Regions from separate parts of the Homo sapiens genome. Here all the other regions are linked to region 1. Evidence: promoter capture Hi-C in human tissues and cell types (Jung and others, 2019). All regions are on one chromosome and are shown on one strand. Each heading gives the region's core, a stretch centred on a gene start or on the middle of the fragment in contact. The rest is flanking DNA. Distances are from core to core; before and after follow the strand shown. Region 1 holds the start of ROCK1 (Rho associated coiled-coil containing protein kinase 1). Region 2 overlaps GREB1L (GREB1 like retinoic acid receptor coactivator). Region 3 overlaps ESCO1 (establishment of sister chromatid cohesion N-acetyltransferase 1).

Region 1 (4,333 bases), core at 420-2,919:
AGTGACAATGTTAAGTGCCACACCACCAAAAAGACAGTTACAATAACTGTATGGTACGTACTTTTGTAACCAATAATACAATAAAATAAGTTAACACTGTAATTACCTATGACCAATTATCTTGGTTTTTTACAATAGTTTAGCAAAAAGTTCCTTCAAACTCAAATCACCTATGAAATTTTGGCTCAAAAATCACTTCCTCAATAGCAATTCTCCGTTATCATTTTCAAGGCTAAAAACTAAACCCCTAGGAGCTAAATCGCAAAAAGGAAAAAAAATGCAAAGTAGTCTTTCCAATTTAACTGTCAAACGGATCAGAAAGATTAACATTAATTACTACGATCGCCATTCAACAAACTGTATACATTGCAGTAACTCTGACGTGATAACTTTTTATAGGATGCCTGCAATAGCAGTTTGTAAGTATCTTTCGGGTACTCATGAACTGAGTCAGAATTAAAAGTTCAGAGTAGTTAGTACAGAGCCAGTCAAATGGCAAATAGGACCACACCATGAGATGTTAATGGTACTCCAAGATTCTTCAGGAAACAGAAATCTAGCATTTTCCAAGACGATTATGCACACCTGAGACTTTTGCAGCGAACCAGACTAATGCAAGAGGAAGGAAAGACATGCAAAACCCCAGACAAGCAAAAGAGAACAGCGCTACTCACCAGCAAACAATCCGAATTCACTTCCGATTTGGGATCCCGCAGCAGGTTGTCCATTTTTTCAAATCGAGTCTCAAAACTGTCCCCAGTCGACATGTTGCTGCTGCTGTGACAATGCCCTCTTACCAGCACCAGCAGCGGAAAGCAATTTCAACCAACTTCCTCCGCGGTGGGTTCGCAGCCGCGGGGCGGAGGAGCCGGAACCTCAGGGTCACCAGGTGCGCCCGGTTCCCCCGTCTTCCCCTCACTGAGGGGACCTCCGCTCTCCAGACCCCGGGCCGGGGGCAACAGCGACCCACAGCCGCTCGGACGCCCAAAGTCGCATCCCACCCGGCAGCCCCTCACGACAGCCGACAGCGCCGTCGCCACCAGCCTCGTCGCTCCGGCGAGGTGCTTCAGTCTAGCGGGCCCCGGCCGCCGTCGCCATGGAGGGGTCCCCGTCCCGAGATGGGCAGGAGCGGGTAGAGAAAGAGAAGCAGGGTGGAGACTCCCTCCGGGCAACAAGGGAGGGAGAAGAGGAAAGGCGAAAGCAAAGGGCGGGTGAGGAGCTGTGCCAGCTGCGGCCGCCGCTCGGGCCACGGGCCGGGCCCGCTCCGCTCAGAGGCGCTGTAGACGGTCTAGCCCCGCGTCCCCGGCTCTACTCGGCCCGGCCCGACGCACCGATCAGTCTCGGCCACGAGCTGGTCCACGCAGGACAGCCTCACTCTCCCATTTTGTCCCGTCGCTGCTGGGGCTGCTGCTACGGTGTCCGGTGGGGCAGGGCGAGGTCGATGCCCGATGGAGACTTAGCAGAGGAAAGGCTGGAGAGCGGGCGAAGAGGAAGACGATAGTTGGGTCCCGGCGGCTGCTGATGGGGGAGCTTCTGGGAGGGGCTGCGGTCCCAGCCGGGGAAAGGGCGAGTCGCGGCGGCGAATGCCTGGGGGGTGGGGCGAGGGGGGCTGAGAGGGACTAATATGTCCGCCTTCCTGTTCAAACAAACGGAGACCGCCGGGGCAGACTGCGCATGCGGGGCGCGGACGCTCGGAAGGGGAACCAGCCGGGACCCCGCGCGCGCGCGCGCACTCTGTCGCCTCCGCAGGGTGGGGTGGGGCGGGGCGGTGAGGTGGGCGGGGCCTTGCGGGCAGGCGGTGGAGAAGGCGGACCGCTGGGAGGAGCCGAGTGCGGGTAAGCAGCTGCCGGCAAGGTTCTCGCCTTGGCCGGCTCTGAGGAGCCATGCAGGGCTCTGGAGCGGCCTTGGAGGTCCGGACGGAGGCGGAGCTCTGGCTGCTTCTGATCGCTGTCCCGGCAGATGCCCCAGCTCTGTTTCCTCTGGGTTGCAGCCAGTCCAGAGACTTCTGACGAGGAGAGAGTGCTTGTTCTCCTTGTTGCTGTTAGGGTGGGGCAATAGGTTCTTTTTTAGGCAAGAAGCCTTTTCGTCGGCAGGTACCAGCATTGAGCACCAGTGGCGTTTGGTTTTCAGTGGTACTCCATGGACAGCCCTCCGCGAGCCCCGGCGTTGAACCCATTTACGATTCACTGGGAAAGTTCCGAAGCGCTGCAGCGCTCAGCCCTCCCACGCCAGGCGTGTGTGTCAGGGGAGCCATAAAATACTGACTCCGGAAGATACAGTCAATAGAAGTCAAGCTCAATTTAATTTTTTTAAAGGAAAATAATCTCGTAGAAAAAAATCAATATTTTTAAGTCGTTCGTGTTAGTTCTCATAACACCCCTACTGTAGTTCTCTCCTGGACGTGTAATGCTGCCGTTTCAATGTCAAAACATTCAGTGAAACTTAATTGTGATTTTTATCAGAACTAATGTAGGACATGAGAATAATGGGCATTTCTCCTAGTTCCGTTACTTCGTTGACTGTGGTGTGAGGAAAGGTGAAAGACTTGTCACTCACCCCCGCTGATAAAGTTATGTTCTTCACTGGTTTCAGCAGGAAATCTACCTTAATTTATTCCTCATCAAACTTTATTTTTGCTCAGAAGCCAAATTAAGGATCACTAGAAATAGAAAATGTGGATCTTTTACCCCATGATGGAAAATGCTACAGATGAACCAAAAAGCATCGGAGTAAAAAGCATCGTACAGCATCTGAACAGTCCACCAGCCTTACGATGTGAGTCAGAGGTTAGGAAAATCTTACACTGTTTGAAAAAATGTCTATTTCTATTTTCAATTTATTAAATACAAGAAATATTTAGATATAAAATCCACTATATATATCAAGATAGGACGTTCTTGGTTTATACAAAAATCATAACAAAGACAACTAGACAAACCAGGTATTTCATTAAATGCCTTTGCAGCGACTTTTCTTGGCTCCAGCATTTTAAGTCATGTGAATTAGACTTATTTTTAAGCATAGGGCTTAAAATAAATCAGGCAGTTGCCCTAAAATAAATTTCCTAAACCCTGCTTGTCTTTTTTTTATTATTATTACCATTTTTAGGTATTAGGAATTTTGTTGTTTCTCAGAGAACCGTGAACATTATGTTGCTTTCCATTTAGACACATACGAAAAAATACAAGTAGTTAAGACAATACATGAGTGACACTGATAAATATAAGTGGAAGTGATAACCAACCTGGCAGAACTACTAGAAATATATGTGGGGTCCATATATTTCTAGAAATATCTACTAGAAATATAGGTGGGGTCCATATATAGCTTACTTACCTACAAGGCTCTTCTGATTATTGTGACACATCACTAGTTATCTTCTGCCATAAGATAGATGGACTCTAAATCTAGTTATCTTCTGCCATAAGATAGATGGACTCTAAATTAACTTTTTTTTTTTTCTCCGAGGCGGAGTTTCACTCTTGTCTACCAGTCTGGAGTGCAGTGGCACGATCTCGGCTCACTGCAACCTCTGCCTCCCGGGTTCAAGCGATTCTCCCGCCTCAGCCTCCGGAGTAGCTGGGATTACAGGCACACGCCACCACGCCCAGCTAATTTTTGGTGTTTTGTTTGTTTTATTTTGTTTTGAGATGGAGTTTCACTCTTGTTGCTCAGGCTGGTGTGCAATGTCGCGATCGCGGCTCACCGCAACCTCCACCTTCTGGATTCAAGTGATTCTCCTGCCTCCCGAATAGCTGGGATTACAGGCATGCTCCACCATGCCCAGCTAATTTTGTATTTTTAGTCGAGATGGGGTTTCTCCATGTTGGTCAGGATGGTCTTGAACTCCCGACCTCAGGTGATCCGCCCACCTTGGCCTCCGGAAATGTTGGGATTACAGGCGTGAGCCACTGCCCTGGCCTATTTTTATATTTTTAGTAGAGATGGGGTTTCACCATGTTGGCCAGGCTGGTCTCGAACTCCTGACCTCGTGATCCACCCTCTTCGGCCTCCCAAAGTGCTGGGACTACAGGCGTGAGCCACCGCGCCAGGCCAACTTTTTTTAATAAAGAGGTCCTCACCTTTAATAGGGTGGAATCATATTATATTAAAAATTCCCTTCCATTAGCTGGGCATGGTGGCAGGCACCTGTAATCCCAGCTACTCTGGAGGCTGAGGCAGGAGAATTGCTTGAACCCGGGAGGCGGAGGTTGCAGTGAGCCGAGATGGCGCCACTACACTCCAGCCTGGGTGACAGATCGAGACTCTGTGTCAAAAAAATAAATAAATAAAAATAAAATAAAGTTCCCTTCCAACCTTAAAATTCTATCGT
Region 2 (4,005 bases), core at 321-2,820, 330 kb after region 1:
GTTCTTTCCCTTCAACCCCATTCTCTGTAACTTTTCCCTTTCCTCTCCTTCATTTCTTTTCTACTCCTTTCCTTTCCTCTTCTTTGGGTCCTAGAGGAGATGAATTGCACCACCTAGTGTCCAGTCTCATGATGCTGCAAAGGTCTCCAAAGTAGTTAAGGTAGGCAGAACCTTAAAGGGTTGTGCCTTGAGCACCCCTTCTCTGGGGAGCTTGGCCAGGCCACCTTTCTGAAAGTGCACCTACCATCTGGAGTGCAAACACAGCCATTGTCTTAAACAATTATTTTCCAGTTTTCCACTTAGCCTTTTTATCTTGTTTATCCACTGGCCCTACACCCATTTTTTTTCTTCTCCAGCTACACCCCTTTGATGGAGTCCCATCGTGCTTTCCATCATTGAGGTCATAACTGTGGACCTCCCTGGAAGGTCTTTAAGCTATAGGGTAAGGGGGATATGTAGGTCATGAACCCTTCACTTCCTCTATCTGATATATTCTCCGAAGCCCCAAAGTGGGTGTATGCAGGTGCCCTGACAATACTAGAGTGGCTTAGCAGCATTTACATCGAAATGTCCTTTATTTTGCAAATGGCAGTAGGCCATCTAATTATACACTCACTCTATCACTTCAAGCCACTGATTTACTTAGAAAAATATTTGAGATGTGGCCGGGCACGGTGGCTCACGCCCGTGATCCCAACACTTTGGGAGGCCAAGGTGGGCGGATCACCTGAGGTGGGGAGTTCGAGACCAGCCTGACCAACATGGAGAAACCCCATCTCTACTAAAAATACAAAATTAGCTGGGCGTGGTGGCGCATGCCTGTAATCCCAGCTACTCAGGAGGCTGAGGCAAAAGAATTGCTTGAACCCGGGAGGCGGAGGTTGCAGTGAGCCCAGATCACGTCATTGCACTCCAGCTTGGGCAACAAGAGTGAAACTCCATCTCAAAAAAAAAGAAAAGAAAAGAAAAGAAAAAAATATTTGAGATGTAAAATTACACATAAAAATATTAGTATGCACTCTTGTGAAATTTTTTAATTTTAGAAAATACTTCAGTGTTAGGAGATAATAAAAACACTGGACTAAATAACTTTAAAAGAAAGAAAAAAGCTTTATTAGGGCATATTCAGTGTTTGGTGCATTAGCTAGCAATCTTGACTAGAACTCTGTGCCCTGAGAGGCTGCCTTGACTTGGCCTCTGCTTCGACATGGCCTTTTGAAATTTACAAGGCACCAATTTCATGATAAACCTAGGACTTACTAATGATGCTTATTGAAAGGTAATACAATTATAAAGCTCATCTGGGTCCACAGCTCATTTGATGACATAATTTTAATTGCTACATACTGAAATTAGATTATAGACTGTGTTCTAAGATCTAAAGCCAACTTCTAAATGCACCCAGAATTAGTAAAACCAGGCTTCATAAAGTGATGATATAGCCAACCAAGAAAATCACTATAGCACTCTTTTTCAGTTTGTTTGTTTGTTTGATTATTTGTTTGTTTGTTTTGAGACCGAGTCTCACTCTGTTTCCCAGGCTGGAGTGCAGTGGTGCGATCTCGACTCACTGCAACCACCACCTCCCATGTTCAAGCAATTCTCATGTCTCAGCCTCCCGAGTAGCTGGGACTACAGGCGTGAACCACCACACCCTGCTAATTTTTGTATTTTTAGTAGAGACAGGGTTTCACCATGTTGGCCAGGCTGGTCTCAAACTCCTGATCTCAGGTGATCCACCTGCCTTGGGCTCCCAAAGTTGGGATTACAGGCATGAGTCACCACGCCCGGCCTCCTTTTCAATCTTAATAGCAATTTTTAAAATCGGAGTCTAATTTAATTAAATGAACCAAGTGGTCAAAATAAGATATCTTTTCTTAAAGTACTAAATGCTCTTATCTTTTGTAAAGAAAAAGAAAAGAAAAGAAAAAAAGAAACAATTTCAATTTAATTACACAGATTCTTCTCTGACCTGCAGGATCAGTTCTTTCCTGAATTTGACTTGCAGTCAATCAGTTAGGCCTCTCGATATACATGAATAGCTATTTCTCTTTTAAAACCTAAGCTTTGTACATTGAGACATCTCTATCCCTCAACAACTGTTCTGGAGTCCTTTATTTATTTATTATTTATTTATTTCTTTATTTCTTGCCTCTGGAGGTTTCAAGAAGGCAAGCAAGAATAGTTTCACATATGGCATAGATTATAGACATTTAAAAAAATAAATCTAAACTTCTAAAAGGATTTTTAATACTTCAGCGGCTCAGTTACTTAGAGGTATCAGAGAAGAAGAAAAGCAAGATTCTTCAGAAGGAACCATACCTCTTCACTACAGTCACTTTTAAAAAATCTCAGTCATTTCACAGTCAGAAAATCTTTGAAGTAGATAATGAAATCAGCAAATCCAGAGATTCTTGTAAGGCTCTGAGTCTATTTAAACCTTGACTTTTCCTATTAAGGTAGTTCTTTCTGAAAAGTCATTAAAACTGATACCTCAGCTAACCTAAGTTATTGGAGATCAGCACTTGAAGGAAAAGATTATTGTTATCAAGCTTGCGAAAGTGGAGAAAAGACACCTGCAATGTAATTGTAAAGGCTGAGGATGAGGTACTGGGTGTGGTGGCTCACGCTTGTAATCTCAGCACCTTGGGAGGCTGAGGCAGAAGGATCACTTGAGCCCAGAAGTTCAGAACTGCAGTGAGCTATGATTGTGCCACTGTACTCCAGCCTGGCAGACAGACAGAGACCCTGTCTCTAATTAAAAAAATTTAAAAAAAAAATTTTTTTAAAAGGCTGAGGATGAAAAAGTGATAGTTGATTTTTGGAAACAAGGCATTTTACTCTAAGAAGTCTCTTACCTCATTTAAACTTAATACCTTTTCCTCCACTTCTTGATTCCTAATTGTACATCAGTCAAAACTGTATAAAAGCGAGCTTTAAGGCAACAAAGGATGTTGTGAACATGTTTAGTAATTTTATTTTCCCAGAATGCCTTTGTGCTTTCAATTAATTATGCCTCCTGATAGAATATGTTACTTAGTCCTGGAGTGAGTCTTATGGACTACTAACCAGGCCCCTGAGCTTTCAGGTTGTTAATGAAAGACGGTAGGGAATTGGAGACAGCCAGGGCCACCTGCTTTTCAGCTGTCATGTTCTGGTGGAAGAAAGCGTTAAATAAATGACCACCTTCTATCCACTTTGAGCTCACTGAAAAGTGTTTACCTAGTGACAATTAACCATGATGCCAATTTGATAAAGCTGAATGAAGATCAGACATCTTGGTGGCTCCTAGGTGATTTTTTTTTAAAGAGCATCCCTCCACATTCCCAGCAAGTTTTTTGAGGACAGTAGAGGCCAGGCACGGTGGCTCACACCTGTAATCCCAACACTTTGGGAGGCTGAATAGGGTGGATACTTGAGGTCAGGAGTTTGAGAGCAGTCTGGCCAACATGGTGAAACCCCATCTCTATCAAAAATACAAAAATTAGCCAGGCATGTTGGGCATGCCTGTAATCCCAGATACTCCGGAGGCTGAGACAGGAGAATTGCTTGAGGCCAGGAGGTGGAGGTTGCAGTGAGCCGAGATCGCGCCACTGCACTCCAGCCTGGATGACAAAGGGAAACTGTCTCAAAAAAAAAAAAAAGCAGCAGCAGCAGCATAGAAGAAACACAGACATAATGTATACATTACCATTTTCTTGCCCTGTTTCCATGTATAGAGGAGAAAAATCTGTTTATGAGAATTCTACTCTCCTACCTCTCCCTGGCCTCCACCCAATCCTGGAAAAACTGTTTTCTCCAATTAAAATTGTTGTTTTTATAATGTATAAGATTTTATTTAATTTTCCATATCTGAAGAGCATTACTAAACACCTCATTTTCTTACTTTCCCAGAAAAGATGGGAAGGGCCAGAGAAACCACTTAGATCCCTATTAGAGGAAGGAATGGGTCTGACTCATTTGTGGTGCCTCCTTCTCATGCAGAAGTCCAGCCCATCACCCCTT
Region 3 (3,839 bases), core at 920-3,419, 430 kb after region 1:
GAGCTTTGAAGTTCAAAATAAGTACAGAAGGAATGAGCTTAACTAGTTGTTCCAGTTGTCTTAACCCAACCAACTTTACATAAAAAGGCCTTTCCAGAAGCCATTTATACTTCTAGTAGAGAAAACCACCATATTTTTTCTGATGTTTCTTCTAAGAACACAAAAAGCTCAATGAAACCAAGAAAATGGCAACTAGATTTCTTTAAAAATATACTATGGCAAGTGTGAAAGCAGATTCGTTTTCTTAAACCATCAGGAATTTTTTGGAGGGGGAAGGTAGAAAGATCATAGTTGGGAACAAAAATTCTAGGTAATAAGCTTGGTATATGTAACAATTTAAATTAAAATATTTAAAATCCAAAATTTGTTTACATAATAGAGTACCCAAGTTAAAATTCAGATGATTAAAATTATGATTGGTAAAATGTTCTCAAGATTTGAAAAGAAAGGAGCAGAAACAATAGCCACAGAAGTCCTTTTTTCATCTAAGAAACTAAATCTGTAGTTCTTCAACGTAAATAAGGTTTTAAAAAAGAAACTTAAGGCCGGGTGCAGTGGCTCACGCCTGTAATCCCAGCACTTTGGGAGGAGGGCAGATCACAAGGTCAGGAGATTGAGACCATCCTGGAAACCCCGAATCTACTAAAATACAAAAAATTATTGTATTTTTAGGCGGGTGTGGTGGCACGCGCCTGTAGTTCTGGCTACTCAGGAGGCTGAGGCAGGAGAATTGCTTGAACTCGGGAGGTGGAGGTTGCAGTGAGCTGAGTTCGCGCCATTGCACTCCAGCCTGGGTGACAGAGCGAGACACTGTCCCAAAAAAAAAAAAAAAAAAAGAAAGAAAGTAAATCTGAATCATATAGAGATCTGAATATAGGTAAACAATTTTTAGAAGATTTACAAGACATCACCTCTTTAAAAACAAATTTCTATTACTAATGTTACTTTATGAAAAAGCTTTTAAATTTATGAACCTATTTTTAATAAAATGAAAAGAGATTTTCACTTTAAAACATCGAAAAGACCTAAAAATGTAAGTAACCTCAAGTTATAAGAAAACCATTCTTCCTGAACTGAATCATCTAAAGACAGTTCCATAAACTATTTTCCTATTAAATGCCTTTGAAAACAGTAATACTGGTTTCATGTCATTATATTGCATTATAGACATTAGACAAATTATTTTGCTTTACTAATTTTTGAGTGCAAAACTTTCTCTTGAAACAACTTCAGACTTGTATGTTCATGCCGAAATTTTTATCACAATTCCATTTGATATAATTTTATGTTTTAAATAGTACCTTTTTTTCATGTACTAAATAAAAGCCCTTTAAGAAGCAAAGGCTGCAAAAGGATACTTAGTATTGCTTAGATTTCTAATGTTCATGAAAACAGCAAGTTTTATTTATTAATGTAATTTACTTATTTGAGACAGAGTCTCACTCTGTCACCCAGGCTGGAGTGCAGTGGCAAGATCACAGCTCACAGCAGCTTCAAACTCCTGGGGCTCAAGCAATCCTCTTGCTTCAGCCTCCCAAGTAGCTGGGACTACAGGCGTGCACCACCATGCCAAGCTAAGAAAGCATATTTCAGTGAAAACTTTTAAGTAACTCTAGAGTAAAAGTTCAGGGTTTAGATCCTTGTTCTTGGTAGTTACTAGATGCATGGCCTTAGGCAAATCACTGGAACTCTGATTCTGTTTCCTGATCTTAGCATTCTAAAAAATGGCTATCATCACCTCCATCACTTGGGTAGGTACGAGGGTGCTGTATTTAAGATGACTGCTCAAAGAGTAGCCACTAAGTAACTCTTAGCAACTTCCATTCTCCCTTCTTACTAGTATCAAACTAAGATCAATGCACTAATCTAACAAAACAGTCAATCAATAAATGTTCCCAAGGGTAAATACAGCAATAAATTCAAATCATAGGCAAATAAAAGATGAAAGAAACAAGTTAGCTAATATTTGTTCAAATAACATACTCAAGACATATCTATGCCTCAACTACAGTTAACTGCTAGTCACAATAACCACATGACCCTCCTTACTTCAGAGAAACTTAGAGGCGATAAAGTCCATCCAATGCTTAAAATTAAGGCAGAGGAGAAGCAGGGTTCAGGAAAGAGTGCATGCAATTTAGAAGAATAATCAAATAGCCACAACGTTTTTGCAAAGAAATAAATTCCAATGCAGTGCACTTACACTTCTGACCTTTAGCTCCAACATATTTCAGGACTAGTATGTTACACATAACCCTCTGCTAACAAGTAGTATTTTCCAAAACCCATTTTTTCTTACTTCATCCATTTCTGCTTCATGAAAAGCAGAAAACTTTATATTCCTAATTTGTATTTCTAACAGCAAGAAATTATTATTATTTTATTTATTTTTTTTTTTGAGACAGTTTCAATCTTGTTGCCCAGGCTGGAGTGCAATGGCGCAATCTCGGCTCACTGCAACCTCCGCCTCCCGGGTTCAAGCAATTCTCCTGCCTCAGCCTCCCGAGTAGTTGGGATCACAGGCATGTGCCACCACGCCGAGCTGATTTTTTTTGTATTTTTAGTAGAAACAGGGTTTCTCCATGTTGGTCAGGCTGGTTTCGAACTCCCGACCTCAGGTGATCCGCCAGCCTTGGCCTTCCAAAGTGTTGGGATTAAGAAATTATTACTCTTTTCTCCTTGCTATTGGAGTTACTCTAAACTGTACAGTCTAAAGAATGGATTTCTCCTTTTTCCATCAAAAAAAGGATTACAATTGGAAACAAAATACACTGAGTGGTAAATACACTGAGTATATACAATGATCAAAATTCAAACCAAACACTTAAGATGTGTAGATTTAATTGTATAAATAATACCCCGACTTTAAAAGTTCACATTAATCACAATTTCATGAAAAGGTTGAATGAGAATATACATTTGAAGGAATATTTGAAGAAATAAAACCAACAACCAGCTTTTCAAAAAATAAACAAATATTACAAGGGAAAAAAACAGAACCAGGGAGAACTTTGGGATTAAAAGATACTAAAGGGACATAACAACCAATGTAATATATAAACCCTAATTCAAACAAATAAGCAACATAGGAAATCATGAGCTATTTGGGAAGCTTTGAACTCTGATAGAAAACTTGATTTCAACAATTAATTCATTTATTGAAGGTGTAGTTATATTCTTTAAGGTACTTTTATGTTTAAAAAAGGAATAATCTTTGGCCAAGCGCAGTGGCTCACACCTGCAATCCCAGCACTTTGAGAGGCTGAGGAAGGCGGATCACAAGGTCAGGAGATCGAGACCATCCTGGCTAACACGGTGAAACCCTGTCTCTACTAAAAATACAAAAAAATTAGCTGGGTGTGGTGGTGCACGCCTGTAGTCCCAGCTACTTGGGAGGCTGAGGCAGGAGAATTGCTTGAACCCAGGGGACAGAGGTTGCAGTGAGCCGAGATCGCGCCACTGCACTCCAGCCTGGGCGACAGAGCGAGACTCCAACTCAAAACAAACAAAAAAGGAGTAATCTTCATCTTTAAGCAATACATATTTAGAGGTGGGGCATGGTGGCTCACACCTGTAATCCCAGCACTTTTGGGGGCCAAGGCAGGCGGATTACCTGAGGTCAGAAGTTCGAGACCAGCCTGGCTAACCTGGTGAAACCTCGTTTCTACTAAAAATACAAAAAAAAAACAAAAAAAAAACAAAAACTAGACAAGCGTGGTGGCATGCACCTGTAATCCCAGCTACTTGGGAGGCTGAGGCAGGAGAATCACTTGAACCCAGGAGGTGGAGGTTGCAGTGAGCCAAGATCATGCCATTGCACTGCAGCTTGGGCAACAAGA

Evidence for each region. Contacts are between HindIII fragments. The study calls those that stand out against the background at their distance.
Region 2: a contact is called between a fragment that was not itself captured here and the fragment with the promoter of ROCK1 in region 1, in 1 of the 25 tissues and cell types used here (dorsolateral prefrontal cortex).
Region 3: a contact is called between a fragment that was not itself captured here and the fragment with the promoter of ROCK1 in region 1, in 1 of the 25 tissues and cell types used here (dorsolateral prefrontal cortex).

Annotation. Positions count from the first base shown.
Region 1 is chr18:21,110,144-21,114,476 of GRCh38, forward strand. ROCK1 (Rho associated coiled-coil containing protein kinase 1) reads right to left here and starts at 1,670. Exons shown (of 33, transcript NM_005406.3): 1 at 675-1,670. The coding sequence starts at 767. RefSeq lists enhancers at 1,323-1,911, 1,565-1,859, 1,959-2,178, 2,209-2,268 and a silencer at 1,529-1,918. The HindIII fragment of the contact is 9,004 bases long and covers 1-4,333 here.
Region 2 is chr18:21,444,530-21,448,534 of GRCh38, forward strand. All of the region lies in intron 11 of GREB1L (GREB1 like retinoic acid receptor coactivator), which reads left to right. All of the region lies in intron 1 of GREB1L-AS1 (GREB1L antisense RNA 1), which reads right to left. Among named protein-coding and RNA genes, the nearest start is that of GREB1L-AS1, 4.5 kb to the right of the region's middle. The HindIII fragment of the contact is 4,052 bases long and covers 1-3,596 here.
Region 3 is chr18:21,540,776-21,544,614 of GRCh38, forward strand. All of the region lies in intron 8 of ESCO1 (establishment of sister chromatid cohesion N-acetyltransferase 1), which reads right to left. Among named protein-coding and RNA genes, the nearest start is that of ESCO1, 58 kb to the right of the region's middle. The HindIII fragment of the contact is 5,589 bases long and covers 1-3,839 here.